Regions from separate parts of the Homo sapiens genome. Here region 1 is linked to region 2. Evidence: promoter capture Hi-C in 16 types of primary human blood cells and fetal thymus (Javierre and others, 2016). All regions are on one chromosome and are shown on one strand. The core of a region is centred on a gene start or on the middle of the fragment in contact, and the rest is flanking DNA. Distances in the headings are between cores, read along the strand shown.

Region 1 (7,473 bases), core at 1,683-4,182, 1.0 Mb after region 2:
ATGAGTGATGCAATGTGTCAAGGCTGCACATGGCCGGATGCATATGGAGCAGCCCCCAACTGGGGGTGCTTATCAGTACCTTACTAGACCACTTGGTAGCTTCCCGATGCAAGGACTGAGCCGCGGCCAGAATGGGCTGGTTGACCGGCTGATTGGATGGCATTAACAGCAGCTCAGGTTCGTAATCGTCTTCCATGTCAGGGGGGACAGGGAAGCCAGCAGCATCGGCCGCATCTGCCTCAGCTACAACACCTATACCCACCTCAGCGGCTGGGATGCCCGGCTTTGTCGATGGCGGGAAGGATGAGAAATAGGGATAGTGTTAGTAAGAGCAATACGACTTGGGAAACTGGGCTTCAGCTGGTTTAGTAACCAAAGCCTGCCTAGGATGAGAAAGAAACATGTTCTCTAGGAGCCTTGTGTACCAAGCTTCACAGAAGGGGGAATTCTCAGCCTCCAGCGCCACTCAGCCCAAGCCACTGTGTGGTGAGAGAAGAAAAGGGACTCACTCCAATGGCAAAGGGCTTCTAGAGAAATCTTTACACCAAGAAAGCAAGTGGCATCCATTTCTTTAATATACTTGATACTAAAGTCAAACTTGACAAGAGTGATTCTCACATGAGAATATTTCTGAGGAGCCAAACAACCAAACGATAGTAGCAAATTACCTTTAAAAGGAATCCGGAGAGAAAAAGTAAATGCAGCCACACAAGTTACTTTGTACAGAACAAAGTGAACACTGCTGGATCATATGGTCACTGTTCTACATTTTCCTGGGACACAGGAGGCAATTTGGGTCAGCTCTGCAGCTGCCAGACATAGATTATTTCCTTCATGAGTTAAAAGTCCCAGAATTAAAAATGATACATCAGAGGTAACGAATACCAAACTAGGAAAGAGGCAGGAAAAACAAACACAATGGTGACTGAAGAGAACTTAAGTACCCCACTGTCACCCAGCTGTAAGGAGCCTCAAGAAGCCACCTCGTCAGCCGCCCATCTCAGGGAACACCCACACATCAGACCAGCTCTCTATCCCCTCAAGGTCTTCTGAGGCAAAGCTTCTACCATCTCTTTTTGCATCCATTGCTAGTACCACCTCAGAAAGCTTCTCCTTGGGTACAACCTAAATTGCTTGCAAAATAGGTTCTCACTCACCCCAAACTCTGCTTATCTAGTTCACAGATAGAATAATATGTGAACTTGGCAAGTGACTGCAGCTGAGCTCACAGAAGCTCAGAAGAATGGTGCTCATTTAAGAATGAGAATCATGATGGAGAGAACATGAATTTAGAACCAGGGATGGAGATTATAAAAGCCAGATGCTGAAAATAGACTAACATGGAAAGAAAATTAAAAACTGCCACAATGAAGCCAAACCATTTATACAAAGAATGATGAATACAGGTTCTTTACATCAAACATCTGTACTCAAGAGGAAGTAGTTTATATGGAATTTTCTTTGAGGTTGTTACCACTCCTAAAAGTCTTAACCTGCACATGAAACCTGACTCCAAAGGGTGACGATGTTGGAGGATTCAGGGCCAACAAGGGGTTCAGATACCATCTAAACTCTTTTGCCTAAACTCAACCAAGACCCATCTCTGCTGCTCAGAAGAAAAGCCAGCTCACTGCTGCTAAGGCTCAGAGTCCCACAGTGTACAAAGACAGATAGGTTGACAGACACACGAACAGATATTCCTCCCCAGCCCAGTACACACATGGTTCAAGTAGCTTCTGACTTCACACAACTCAAAGTCAGCAAACTCCTGATCTTGCACACTTCAGGAGATAGACCTCAGGACTTCTGGCCACAAATGGCAGAGTGGGGCAAGTAATGTGGGCCAATGCTGTCTGCTTTTAAGTTTGTTTGTTTTTTTAAATAATTCATGTATATTTTTTGTTCTGCATAGTGTATTTTGGTTCATTGTAATGAAATTTAAATTTCCTTTAAAATCTTCACTGTCACCCTCCCCCACTCCCCATGCACAGTGGGGCTCTGCCACATGCAGTTGGAGAGATACCATTATAAATAATTCTACAGGTCAGGTCCAACACCAGCAAAGTCTCCCTTCCTTCTTAGAACCTGGGCTCACAGCTAACAGTTCAGCAAAATACAGAGTTAAAAACCAATGTGAATTTCCCAGCCTGAAAAAAATCCAAGATCAGCTGCAGGTGCAGGAGGTCCCTGAGGAAATACAATCGACACAAGAGCTTGAAAGCTTTGAGGATGTGTAAAGAATAAAGGCAAATAGGTGGTGGGAATAAAGATCTAGGGTCATAAAAACATTAAAAAAAAGATCTAGGGTCATATTAGAAACAGTTTAGAACTAAGAGCTACCTTTCACTGCAGGGTTAGCAATAATATTCCTCTTATCTAGAAAAGCTACTGCTCACTTTTCATCATTTAGGGGAAAATAGGCAAAAGTTATTCATAGGGCAAGACTGCTGTAGCATCCATATTTTTACCAACCACATTAATATTTACACCTTCAGATTTGCTGAGTAAGAGACAGCCTGGAGCTGTCTTGAGTTGACAGGTGAAATGATTCTGAGAAAGGACAAAAGCACATGGCTTCTAAGATACCAATCTACTTGCTTCTGTGGAAAAAAAAAGAAAATGCAAACATTTCATCTAGCTTTAGCACAGCCCACACAATTCATATTTGGAGCTCTGATCATTAGCAATGTAGCATCTAAAAACATTTGCAGTTCCAAGAAAGATAAGCAATTTCTAAAAGACCCCAAATGCTAAGGTCAAGGCACCTGGCACTCTAATGGACAAAGGACAGGAATCCTCTTCTCAAATCACAGGCACCCTGACTCTGGCTTTTGCAAGCTTGAAGGAGAAACCATCAGGTGTCAGAAACATCTCACTAAAGCACAGGTAAGAAGAGGAATATGCTATTGGCAACACAGGAACCAAAGGAGAGAGAGAGGGTGACTCCAAATAGACTCTTCTTTCTGGGTCTTTCATGGTCCTTCATCCTTTCCGAGAAGACATCCTTTCTCAACAAGAAAAGCTTCACTACTTACCTTGCTGGACCATTTGCGAGCTTCATCATGGAGCTGTCTGGCAGCCATCATCATTGGCTGGTTAATCACCTCCCCGGCCTTCTGCTCAGGGAACTCTTCATCCTTTTCCTCTGGTGGTGGAGGCCTAGGTGGAGGGACCTCACCTTCAGGCAGAGGTGGTTTGGGAGGAGCAAGCTCATCTGTTAGCTAAAAAAGAGAAAACAAGTTGTAAGTAAAGTCCTAAAACTACTCCCCCCTGGAATTCTTTCCTTTCTTCTAAAAAGCATCCCTAGAAAACCCACCCATATTGACTCCACATAAGACCACCCACACTGAGCCACAAGGACCACCTGCTTCAATCTCAACAGAAGCAGGTTTCTCTACAAAAAGCTAGCAGTGGCCGGGCGCAGTGGCTCACGCCTATAATCCCAGCACTTTGGGAGGCCAAGGCAGGTGGGTCACCTGAGGTCAGGAGTTCGAGACCAGCCTGCCCAAAATGGTGAAACCCCATCTCTACTAAAAACACAAAAATTAGCCGGGCATGGTGGCATGTGCCTATAATCCCAACTACTCAAGAAGCTGAGGCAGGAGAATTGCTTGAACCCGGGAGGCAGAGGTTGCCGTGAGCTGAGATCATGCCACTGCGCTCCAGCCTGGGCGACAGAGCAAGACTCCATCTCAAAACAAGAAAAAAAGAAAAAAAAAAAAGGCTTGCAGCTACTGTTTTGGTTGCATCCCAGGGAAGTATACACAGTGCTACCAGATGAAGGATTCTCAAAAAGTCCCTACAGAAGATGTAAGTTGTGGTCCTGGTTCTACCAGAAAGCAGCTACATAGGCAAGTAACTTCTCCCCTTGGCCTGAGGTTCCTCATCTGTCACTGAGGGGTAGCTAGACCAAATGACCTCTAAGATCCAGATTCTAAATGACATAACTCTGTTGCTCACATAAGAAGCCATTCCCAGGAATAGCCCTCTCTCCCAGCTCTAAACACCCACCAAGCACCCAGCTGGGAAGAATCTAAGATGCGTTGAAGGCTGGGAAACACTGTTCCTTAGCTGTGTGTGCGATGACACAATTTTGTACTCAACCAACTTAAAAACTTAACATCTTTTACTGACATTAAATATGGGAAAGTAAATCAGATTATTGCCTTGATAAGTTATTTACAAAGTCAAGGTATTTCTAATACTGTTAGTTGGAATAAGTGTCTAGAAATAATCACTATTTCTGTTTCTGGAATTTGTGTCTGCAACATACTGCCTAGCTAGCTTCTTCCTACACCATGTAAAAATATATTCACAGTACTTGCGGGGGGTAGTGGGGAAGGTATCTAAAGATCTTAAATTATAGTTAGGGAAAAATTTTTTAAAAGCATGTATCTTGTTACTTAAAAAAAAGTCAAATAAAGGAAAGAACCAACACAAGATTTCAACCACCTCGGTTCTACCATTATCAACTAAGAACACACCAAATCTCCTTACTCCAAGCTGTGCAGATTATTTTACCACAATGCACTACCTCATCACTCATCACATCCACACTTACCAAAGCCAGCTCCTCTGCTCCAGCCGCTCCCCATCACAGCAAGCCACTACCACACACACCAGTACTACACACACACACACAACCCATGCATATAAGCACTAGGTTATAACTCCACTGGATTTAGGAATGAAAATCGAGATCTGCCTCCCACTAAGCTTCAAATGAAAGCTAAACGAAGCCACCTAGTGATGGAGGCTCTAAAACACAATCTACCTCTCTCTTGCTGAAGTCTCAACACCTTCCTGCTCAATTCTCTGCATATCTGAATTTACTTACTCGGAGTTGTTCAAGGTCTGGTGGAGGCGGCGGGAAGTCAGGCTCCTGAGGTTGGAAGGCTTCTCTGACCTTGGCCACAGCTCCCAGGATCCGATATCCTGAGTCCAGGAAGCTCTTTTGCAGTCCTAAACACAAGACATCCTCACTTTCAGCTGGGTGGGTCAGTGCCCCAAAGCACTGTCTGTGCAGCAGCAGAACTGGTTCCATGAACAAAAGCTGGATGTGAAGCTGCCAGTAAATATCACGGGCAGTGATTGAAGAAGGGGGGAGGCAGGACAAGGCAGATGCCCTGAGGCCTGCAGAGCATTGGAAGCATCACAAACCAGCTGTTCTTTTAGTGTTCAGGGTGCCTTCTTGGCTGTACAACTAAAAAGTACCCAGGAGATCCCTGGGCATGAACACTTTGGGCTCAGGTGGCATCCATCACCTCTCTTATGATGAGGCAGTCAAGAGATAAGCCTGCCCAACTCAGAACATGGGAGATGTCAGTTTCAGATTGGACATACATTCCCTGAAGTACTTCTCACCTTTCTCTCTACTCCTTTGCTGTCCTTGGCATTCAGTATGTTAACCCTTATGCTGAGCTGCGCTACTCTGTTCAGTTGCCTGGAATTCAGGAATCTACTCTACTATTAGAAACTCCAATTAGGAAACCAAGCATGTCCTTAGTGATAATGGGTTTTGGATATTAGAAAGATTCTGCCTGAACCAGAGATGAATAGGGGAGCCCCTCCTTCCTACTCTCTTGCATTGACTGCATTCTACTCATAGACAAGACTGAAAACATCAGATGTTCAAAACAGGAAGGAATTCAGATGATTTCAACCAAAGGAGCGGCTCCAATTATGATCTGCCATGGTAGTACCAAAAATATGATCAAAATTCACCTAAAGAAAACCCAGATTTTCTTTAGGTGTAGGGCCTAGGAGACCCACAGATCAACTTAAGCCCTCCAGATTTGATAGAAACTGAGAATGCTTTACAAAGAAAAAAAAGCATTTTAAGAAAAGCCCAAGAGAAGTTAACACCAGTTACATAAACTAAATGGATGGTAAATTGGTTATCATGCATCTTTTGAAAATTTTCCAAAATAATGACTGAACAAGGCGAGGAGCTATTTAGCCAGACCATATTAAGAAAGCACAGGCTGGATGCCTGTAATCCCAGCACTTTGGGAGGCCAAGGCGGGTGGATCAACTGAGGTCTGGAGTTTGAGACCAGCCTGGCCAACATGGTGAAACTCTGCCTCTACTAAAACTACAAAAAATTAGCTGGGTGTGGTGGTGGGAGCCTGTAATCCCAGCTACTCAGGAGGCTGGGGCAGGAGAATCACTTGAATCCAGGCGGGGGCGGAGGTTGCAGTGAGCCAAGATTGTGCCATTGTACTCCAGCCTGGGCAACAAGAGCAAAACTCCGTCTCAAAAAAAAAAAAAAAAAAAAAAGCGCAGAGGTTGGGCACGGTGGCTCACACCTGTAATCCCAGCACTAAAAAAGCGCAGAGGTTGGGCACGGTGGCTCACACCTGTAATCCCAGCACTTTGACAGGCCAAGGCGGGTGGATCACCTGAGGTCAGGAATTCAAGACCAGCCTGGCCAACATGGCAAAACCCTGTCTACTAAAAACATAAAAATTAGCCAGGCATGGTGGCACACACCTGTAATCCCAGCTACTCGGGAGGCTGAGGTAGGAGAATCGCTAGAACCCAGAAGGTGGAGGTTTCAGTGAGCTGAGATCATGCCACTGCCCTCTGGCCTGGGTGAGAGTCTCAAAAAAAAAAGAAAGCACAGAGAAGTTGGTCCAGAAAAACTAACATACAACAAGCCTGCTGATAACTGCAGAGACTTGGATGGAAAAAGATTAATCTAGCATTCTCAAACTAAGTGTCTATAGTTTTTGCCCCCAGACTTTGTATGTGGTGGTTGTGGGGTACATATTCCCTCACGACCTTTCCTGAGTTAACCTCTCAGTGGAGGTGAGACATAGTGCCATGCATTGCTTACCAGGGTCGGAAATGTTTCCAGCCACAGCTTTTGCATCCATCACCATCGGGGAGATGGTTTTGCTCAATTCATCAGAGGCAGCTTTCACAGCCTCACGGAACTTGGGATCCTCGGAATTCTCCACCTCCCTCTTAGCCACCAGCAGGATCCGGTTGGCCCGACGAGCAATACTGGTTGCCCCAGCAACCAGCATCTGAGGCTGAATGTTGGCCATAGCTACCTTGCACTTGTCCAGGTCTTTTTTAATTGCTTCTTCTGAAGCATCCAACAGAGATTTGGTATCAATGGCTTCGTCCACCAGCCCTGTTAGGAAAACAGAAATGGAATTTAGTTTCAATTTAGAAGAACAGAAACTCCAAAACACTGTTATCCACTCAAACTTCTCATGAGAAAGTATAACATCCAGAATTCTCTTCTTCAGCTCAAACTCTTCCTACATAATCAAAAGCTTCCAGGTAAACACCACAGTTAAAAAAAACAGTGAGGACATAGCCCAAAAGCCCATCTGGATTTGCAGCATTTATACCAACCGTGGTTGCCAGCCTTCTTGTATCCACCCCAGACAACCAGAAATGCAACATCGGGAGGAAACAAGGAATATGTCTGAAACCATCACTGCATCACCACCACGTTAT
Region 2 (7,468 bases), core at 3,434-5,933:
AGGCCAGGAGCTCTAAACCAGCCTGGTCAACATAGCTGATACCCCATCTCTACAAAAGAAAAATTTAAAAAAATTAGCCAGGTGTGGTGGCACACGCCTATAGTCCCAGCTACTCAGAAAGCTGAGGCAGGAGGACTGCTTGAGCCCAGGAGTTCAAGGCTGCATAAGCCATGATCGCGCCACTGTATTCCAGCCTGGGAGACAGTGAGACCCTATCTTTAAAAAAAAAAAACTACCAAAAAATACTTAGACAAATATAAATATAATTCACTGCCCTGCCCCACAACACTCTTTTCTGAGGTACATATCATAAAACATTGTTTTATGGTGAAACACTGTGGTGAAACTATTATAACCAAGTTTTTCTTAGTTAATAGTCTTTTTTTTTTTTTTTTTTTGAGACGGAGTCTCGCTCTGTTGCCCAGGCTGGAGTGCAGTGGTGTGATCTCCGCTCACTGCAAGCTCCGCCTCTCGGGTTCATGCCATTCTCCTGCCTCAGCCTCCTGAGTAGCTGGGACTACAGGCGCCTGCCACGAGGCCCGGCTAATTTTTTTGTATTTTTAGTAGAGACGGGGTTTCACCGTGTTCGCCAGGATGGTCTCGATCTCCTGGCCTCGTGATCCGCCCGCCTCGGCCTCCCAAAGTGCTGAGATTACAGGCGTGAGCCACCGTGCCCGCAGTATGTTACATTCTATAGTATTGTGAGGACCCAATAACAGAACATTTCAATACGGAAACATGAAGTCACTGAACTCAGCTAAAGGTTAGGCTTCAGATCTGTGATGATGGTACTGTGTGTATGGGAGGAGGGGGTTCAGGAATATTCACATCACAGGTCTGTTACAAATCCATACCCACACATTCATATGGCAAATTACCAGGAAGCAACAGCGGTAGCATGTAAACACCAATCTGTTTTCCCAGTGTGCCTGGCCCATGCTCTCCTATTTTTAGTTAACATCTTGATTTCTCAAGGCCAAGAAAACCACAAGACCTAAAGTAAGCATCACTGTCCTGATGATATCTGTTGTCAAATGGCTTTCTCTGTTCTTGCCCTACTATTAACCCCTCAATGTGTTACATCATACCCTTAGAGCAAAACAAAAACAAGAACAAAAACTGGTTCCAAAAGAATTCCCAAAATCACATGTAAGCAAGTATTAAAGATACGGCATTTTGCAAATAAGTAACTCTTTATTTGTAAACAAATATAAATACATGAGACGTGAAAATAATCAAGGCTCTCCCCTGTCATCTCTGCAAATAAGTAAAACATTTAATCTAATCTGGGAATGAAATAGTATAGTCCTCCTCTATAACCTAAATCCCTTAAAAGAATTTTGATTAGCTCATACTGTATTTTTTCACCAAATACCACAATCATTCAAAAGAGCTTCATAGGTAATTTAGCAGAATATGCAATTGTATTCATATCTCGTATAAATCAGTTTGATGTCCAAAGAGAATCAAAGCTACAGAAGCTTTAAAATTAAAAAGTGAATTCAATCTTAGTTCATTAACAATCCACTGGCATATGAAAAATGAAGGGGGTAGAATCTGAAGACAGGAAAGATTTCCATCCATAAATTAACGGGCATGCTAGGTACACCCAACAATTAACACCATATATTACATCAGGCCTGGAAGTAAAAATCTTGAAAGAATAGCTTGTTAACATGGCATTCTTATAAAACAATAATAATACTATTCATGGAAACATCTGTGATTTAAGTTTCTCAAAAAAAGTGTTCAAATTTCAATTCTTAGAAAAGCCATGAAAATGTCTTAATCAGTAACAGCAAAGTTTTGAAGAAGTATTGAGGATCTAATGATTAACAAAATAAAAAAATGTTTATAAGCAACTGTGCAATGTGAATAAGCTTTTGCAGAAGGGGGGTTATGGTACTGAAATCAAAACTGATTTACCTAAATATGTCTGCATATTCTGCCATCGCAGTCATGATGGCTTCTTCTGCCTTAGAGAAACCGATTTTTTTTTTTTTTTTGAGACATATCACTCTGTTGCCCAGGCTGGAGTGCAGTGGTGTGATCTCAGCTCACAACCTCTGCTTCCCGGGTTCAAGAGATTCTCCTGCCTCAGCCTCCTGAGTAGCTGGGATTACAGGTGTGAGCCACCACACCTGATTAATTCTTTTTATAGTATTAGTAGAGATGGGGTTTTGCCATGTTGGCCAAGCTGGTCTTGAACTCCTGACCTCAAGTGATCTGCCTGCTTCGGCCTCCTAAAGTGGTGGGATTACAGGAGTAAGCCACCACACCTAGCCAAAAACTGATTTTCTTTATTCAATGGGTGTGAGAACTGACAAAGGGAAACAAAAATTAAAAAACTATTAGACATGCTAATATGTTAATTGTACAACTCCATCTAACAGTTTCTCTTTAATTTTGCAATAACATTAAGCTGTAATCTTAATAGAGTTCTTATATTGCAGTTCAGCAAATTTTTACATGCCATGACTTTTATTCACAACTAAGTATGAAGATAAGGTCTCCAGAGGATCTCACTCTAAAGATAAAACCAACAAACAGTAATATTACATAAACTTCAACTGAAGATAATTTGTATTAAGTTAAAGAAAAGGGAATTAATACTTTAACAATCTCAGCATTTTTAGCTAAGAATTCACATATCCTTTGAAGAAACAATTACTATTCCACTGTGCATCTGAGGGTATGTCACATAGCCCATACACATAAACTAATTTAAAAGCTGTTGCAAATCAAATTATCATCTCATGAAGATTAAACAGTAGATATCCATTTAGATTTAATCAAGCATTTAGAAAACGCTTGATGCTAACAAAAATTAGCCAGCCATGGTGGCGCCCACCTGCAGTCCCAGCTACTCCCAGCTACTTGGGAGGCTGAGGTGGGAGGATCACTTAAGCCTGGGCAACACAGCGAATCTCTGTCTCAAAAAAAAAAAAGAAAGGAAAGAAAAGAAAAGAAGGAAGAGAAAAGAAATGGCCAACAACTTTACAAACCTATAATCACATAAAAAGTTGTAAAACATATGAGACATGTGGCTAAAGTCAAAGACTTCATGGAACCATGTTATGACTTAACAATCACAAAAGGAAGTCAATTTATCTCTACTAAAGTGAATATAAATATTGCAATCATTCTTTTTCTGGCATAATTATGTTTTGGAACTATGTCTTCTATAAAAAGCATCTGTATACCCACCTGTCCCAGTTGTGTTGGCTGCCAACTACAAGCATCCTCTGTCCTTATTTTTCCAAATCACTCTACTAAAAATACTATTCACACAATACCTGCAAAATAGTATTTCAATATTGGTTTTGCCAATCAGTCAAAGGTACCTCTCCAATTTTCAAGAGATAAGTCCAATCCTGGGGTTATCAGTGAGAGGAAGATTTGGTATTGCGCCTAGACTGTGGCAAGTTCACTGTGCCCCCTTCACCCAGAAACTTGCATTGACCATACATTTACTATGTGGCAAATACATGTGTCAACTTAAAACTTTGAAAGTGGAACCAGTCCATGTTGAGTATCTGTAAAATCCAAGTGTCCAAATTCTTGTTTCAAGTTTAATTTTTAAAATCTGAGTATCCAAAGTCTTGTTTCAAGTTTTTAAAACTTAAAGGTAATATAGTAAATTTTTAGGATCTTAACATGTCTGGTATTTAAACTTAGCTACGAAAAAATTACAATGAAAAAAAGGACACCATTACTGTCAATAAATCCAAATGATATCTTCATTTTCAGAATCACGTCTTCCACTACCTTCTTCAAACATCACTTCCTCTCCACTACTTCCCCCAGTCCTTTAGGCAAATCAGTGATTCACACCGCCCCTTCCACCCAAGATTCTTAAAATGATCCACTGTGCACGAACGAGAAAGCCCCACGATCCAAGTACATTGCCCTAGTGATCTTTGATGTTTTAAAAGGCACCTGTAAAAATGCCAAAGCCCAAAATTAGATCCCCAAGGGCTCCTTTTCTTTCTTGACCACACTTCTCTTTTTCAGTGCCTCCCTCACCCCTTGAGGCCAGACGATTTCCCATCCAACAGCCCTCCTCCTTCTAGTCAAACCTAAATCCTGCCCTCCATCACCACCAGCCCCACCCGGGGTGGGAGGCGGATAAGAGGGCTCCGTAAGAGGAGAACCCCATGAGAGGGCTCCAGTCCCAGCCCCGATCGCCCTCCCTCGCCCTGGGAAGGGAACACCGGCCCAGGTCTTGCTCCTCTGACTCCTCATCCCCGCTGCCAAACCCAGAGCATCTCTTCTTCCGGGTCCACATTCCCGCAGGACCTTCGATCTTTTTCCCCCACTGCGCAGCTTTCAAAAGCCCCCAAGCTCTGGGCTCTTCAAGCCTCCCCCTCTCGCTCTCTCCCTCTCGTTCCTCGGCCTCCACTTATCCCTCAGCCTTCAGGCCCTCAGTTCGACAACCTCCATTTGCTTCAGATTCCATTCCAGAGCTGACTATCCCGGTTCCCTCAACCGTCTCCCCGGGGCCCCTCCAGGTCGCGGTCCCTCGGCAGCCCCCGGCTCCATCCCAGACTCCCCACTCACCCTTGGCAGCAGGCGCCCCCCAAGCTCCCCTCTCCTCAGCCTCAGCTCCCGCTCACCTCCGCGGTCCGAGTCGGGCTCCCCGGACCCACCTCCGAGTCGGCGTCCGAGCCGCCGTCGGAGTCCGGGGCCCTCCCCGCCTCGCCGGAGTGAAGCGCCTCAAGCGGCGGGGGCGGAGCCCGGGGCGGGGAGCCGGAGTGGAGGCGGGGGCGGTGGCGACTGCGCGCAGGCATCGTCCCGGCCGCCGTCACCGCCGCGCCGGCAGCTGCTCGGAGCCGAACCGGAACTGCTTCGGGAGGCGGGGCCCTACCGGCCGGGGACGGGGTTCTACCGGCAGGGGGCGGGGCCCACACTGGAAAAGACGCGAGGCTCCAGATGGGCCCGAGAGGAGAACCGAGATGCTGCCGCGGAGGAGCCCGAGGGCGCATGCGTCATGCCGGAGGCCAAAGCGACAGGAGGAAGCGGGGCTAGCGGAGCCGGGGCGGGGCCTGTGGGATCAGTAAATGGGGTTAGGGCCTAGAAGGAGGTAATCCGAATTCCTCTGGAGAGAGCCAGCTCTTCTCCAATAGCCAGCCCCCAATGATCATTGTTATAATTTATTGCCCATTTACTCTTTGACAGTGTCTATGCCAAACGCCATATAAACATCTCATTTAATCCTTGTGCTAAGGCCGGGAGCGGAGGCTCACGTCTGTAATCCCAGCACTTTGGGAGGCTGAGGCGGGATCACCTGAGGTCAGGAGTTCGAGACCAGCCTGGCCAGCATGGGGAAACCTCGTCTGTACTAAAAATACAAAAATTAGCCGGGCGTGGTGGTGCATACCTGTAATCCCAGCTACTCGGGAGGCTGAGGCAGGAGAATCGCTTGAACCCGGGAAATGGAGGTTGCAATGAGCCGAGATCACGCCATGGCACTCCAGCCTGGGCGACAAGAGCAAACTCCATCTCAAAAAAAAAATCCTAGTGCTAATTCTGCAAGGGGGATCCTATAGCACAGAAAAGTAAAGAAACATACTGCCTGACATATTGCAAACTGATATTCCAACCCAAATCTCTCTAACATCAGATCCTGTATTTTCCTCACTCCACCATGCTGCACCACCCTGAGGGAAGGTCTCCTCCCAAGCCAGGTCTAGCATTGGCATAAACCAAGTCCAAACCCAGCTGTAACCTGGACACGAGCCCCTCCTTGGTCTTGCCTCCCCACACAGTGCCGGGCCGACTTCAATGGTTCTGAATGGGATAGACATGAGTGTAGACTGCTTCCATGGGATGCCCTGGTGTGGCCTTTCCCTTCAAACTGGTCTTAAGGCCAAGGGCAGCTGGGAACCTCCCCACTGCAGCTCATACCCTTCCCAGCTCCATTAGGGCCACTGAGAAGTCACATGAGAGAGGGTGAGACATCTCATCTCTCTTGCTGATAACCAGCTCTGGCAGAAGGACAGGTTGACCTTTCTCAGTTTCTATTTTGGGACCCAAAGCCCTTATAGGCAGAGGAATCTCCCTCCCACTGTTTCTGATGACAGTTAGCCCCTTTGGCTCTCAAAGTCTAGGGCAACACTCACCTCCCGTCTCCCCATTTGACATACAAGGCCCTCTTCAGCCTTCTCTTCTGAGAAGTTAGCCATCTTCACTACAGGACCATTGTTCAAACCTTGCCCCATTGGCCCGGCACGGCGGCTCACACCTGTAATCCCAGTACTTTGGGAGGCCGAGGCAGGCTGATCACTTGAGGTAGGAGTTCAAGACCAGTCAGACCAACATGGCAAAACCCCATCTCTACTAAAAACACAAAAATTAGTGTGGCATGGTGGCACATGCCTGTAATCCTAGCTACTCAGGAAGCTAAAGCAGGAGAATCACTTGAACCTGGGAGGTGGTAGTGGCAGTGAGCCAAGATGATGCCACTGCACTCCAGCCTGGGTGACAGAGTGAGACCCTGTCTAAACAAAACAAAACAAAAAAAAACACCTTCCCCCTCCCCCCATGAATCTTGTGGGCACCCTTTAAAGGAAGCTCTCCATGTCTCTTACCCATATTTCTCTGACTCTACAACTCAGAAAACTGTCCCTGACCTCCGTAATTCAGAGACTCATCCAACAGACATCCAATCCAGCTCCTGCCCAATTTGTGGCCCACCTAGACTGTACACTTCTTTCAGTTCTTTCTATCATTCATCCTTGGAACCAGCCACCTCCTCTGCACCCTGGATCTCTACTTTAACTCAGTCCTCAGAACCTAATAGCCTTAGGCAGGGCTCTACATCTACTAATTCCACAGATGTTTCTAAGCACCTACTATGTGTCAGACCCAGCATGTCCTTTGTTTCATCTAATCCTCAAATTCTCTGAGGTAGGTGTGATTATCCTTACTTTACAGATGAAGAAACTGAGGTTCAGGGTGGTAGCTGACTTGCAGAGGTCTCTCTGATTCTGTGTTCTCATGGAGTTTGGGGGTGGGGGGAGGCTTGGGGAGGAAAAGGTCTTGTCCACTCCAGAGGCCCCTGTGACTTGCTGAGTCACTTGCTTCTGTCACCTGTCCCTGTCAATCTCTGGGAAGGAGAAATGACACTGGAGAGGCAGAGAGGAGTGACCACAGAGGCAGAGGGGTGGGCGGGCTGGCCCATGGCTGAGACCTCTCTCCCAGAGCTGGGGGGAGAGGACAAAGCCACGCCTTGCCCCAGCATCCTGGAGCTGGAGGAGCTCCTGCGGGCAGGGAAGTCTTCTTGCAGCCGTGTGGACGAAGTTTGGCCCAACCTTTTCATAGGAGATGCGTGAGTGGTAGCTGGCCAAGGGGCATGGGGGTGGGGACGTGGAGAGGCAGTTCTTGGTCGCTTTACCAGACACAGGAGGGTGGAAACAAGGAGAAATAGCTCTGCTCTGACCATCCCAGGCCAGGGACCTTCTCCAGG

What was found. The method cuts DNA at HindIII sites, captures the fragments that hold promoters and counts their contacts. A CHiCAGO score of 5 or more calls a contact.
Region 1: a fragment that was not itself captured here is called in contact with the fragment with the promoter of SAMD8 in region 2 in 1 of 17 cell types (total CD8 T cells); the score reaches 5.2 in total CD8 T cells.

Annotation. Positions count from the first base shown.
Region 1 is chr10:74,104,719-74,112,191 of GRCh38, reverse strand. VCL (vinculin) reads right to left here. Exons shown (of 22, transcript NM_014000.3): 16 at 6,839-7,141; 17 at 4,838-4,962; 18 at 3,036-3,221; 19 at 80-283. Among named protein-coding and RNA genes, the nearest start is that of AP3M1, 42 kb to the left of the region's middle. The HindIII fragment of the contact is 184 bases long and covers 2,841-3,024 here.
Region 2 is chr10:75,108,871-75,116,338 of GRCh38, reverse strand. SAMD8 (sterile alpha motif domain containing 8) reads right to left here and starts at 4,683. Exons shown (of 6, transcript NM_001174156.2): 1 at 4,617-4,683. DUSP13A (dual specificity phosphatase 13A) reads left to right here and starts at 7,182. Exons shown (of 3, transcript NM_001007271.3): 1 at 7,182-7,330. The coding sequence starts at 7,182. It also overlaps a transcript of DUSP13B not described here. RefSeq lists enhancers at 3,975-4,923, 4,924-5,873 and a silencer at 4,597-4,936. The HindIII fragment of the contact is 16,308 bases long and covers 1,883-7,468 here.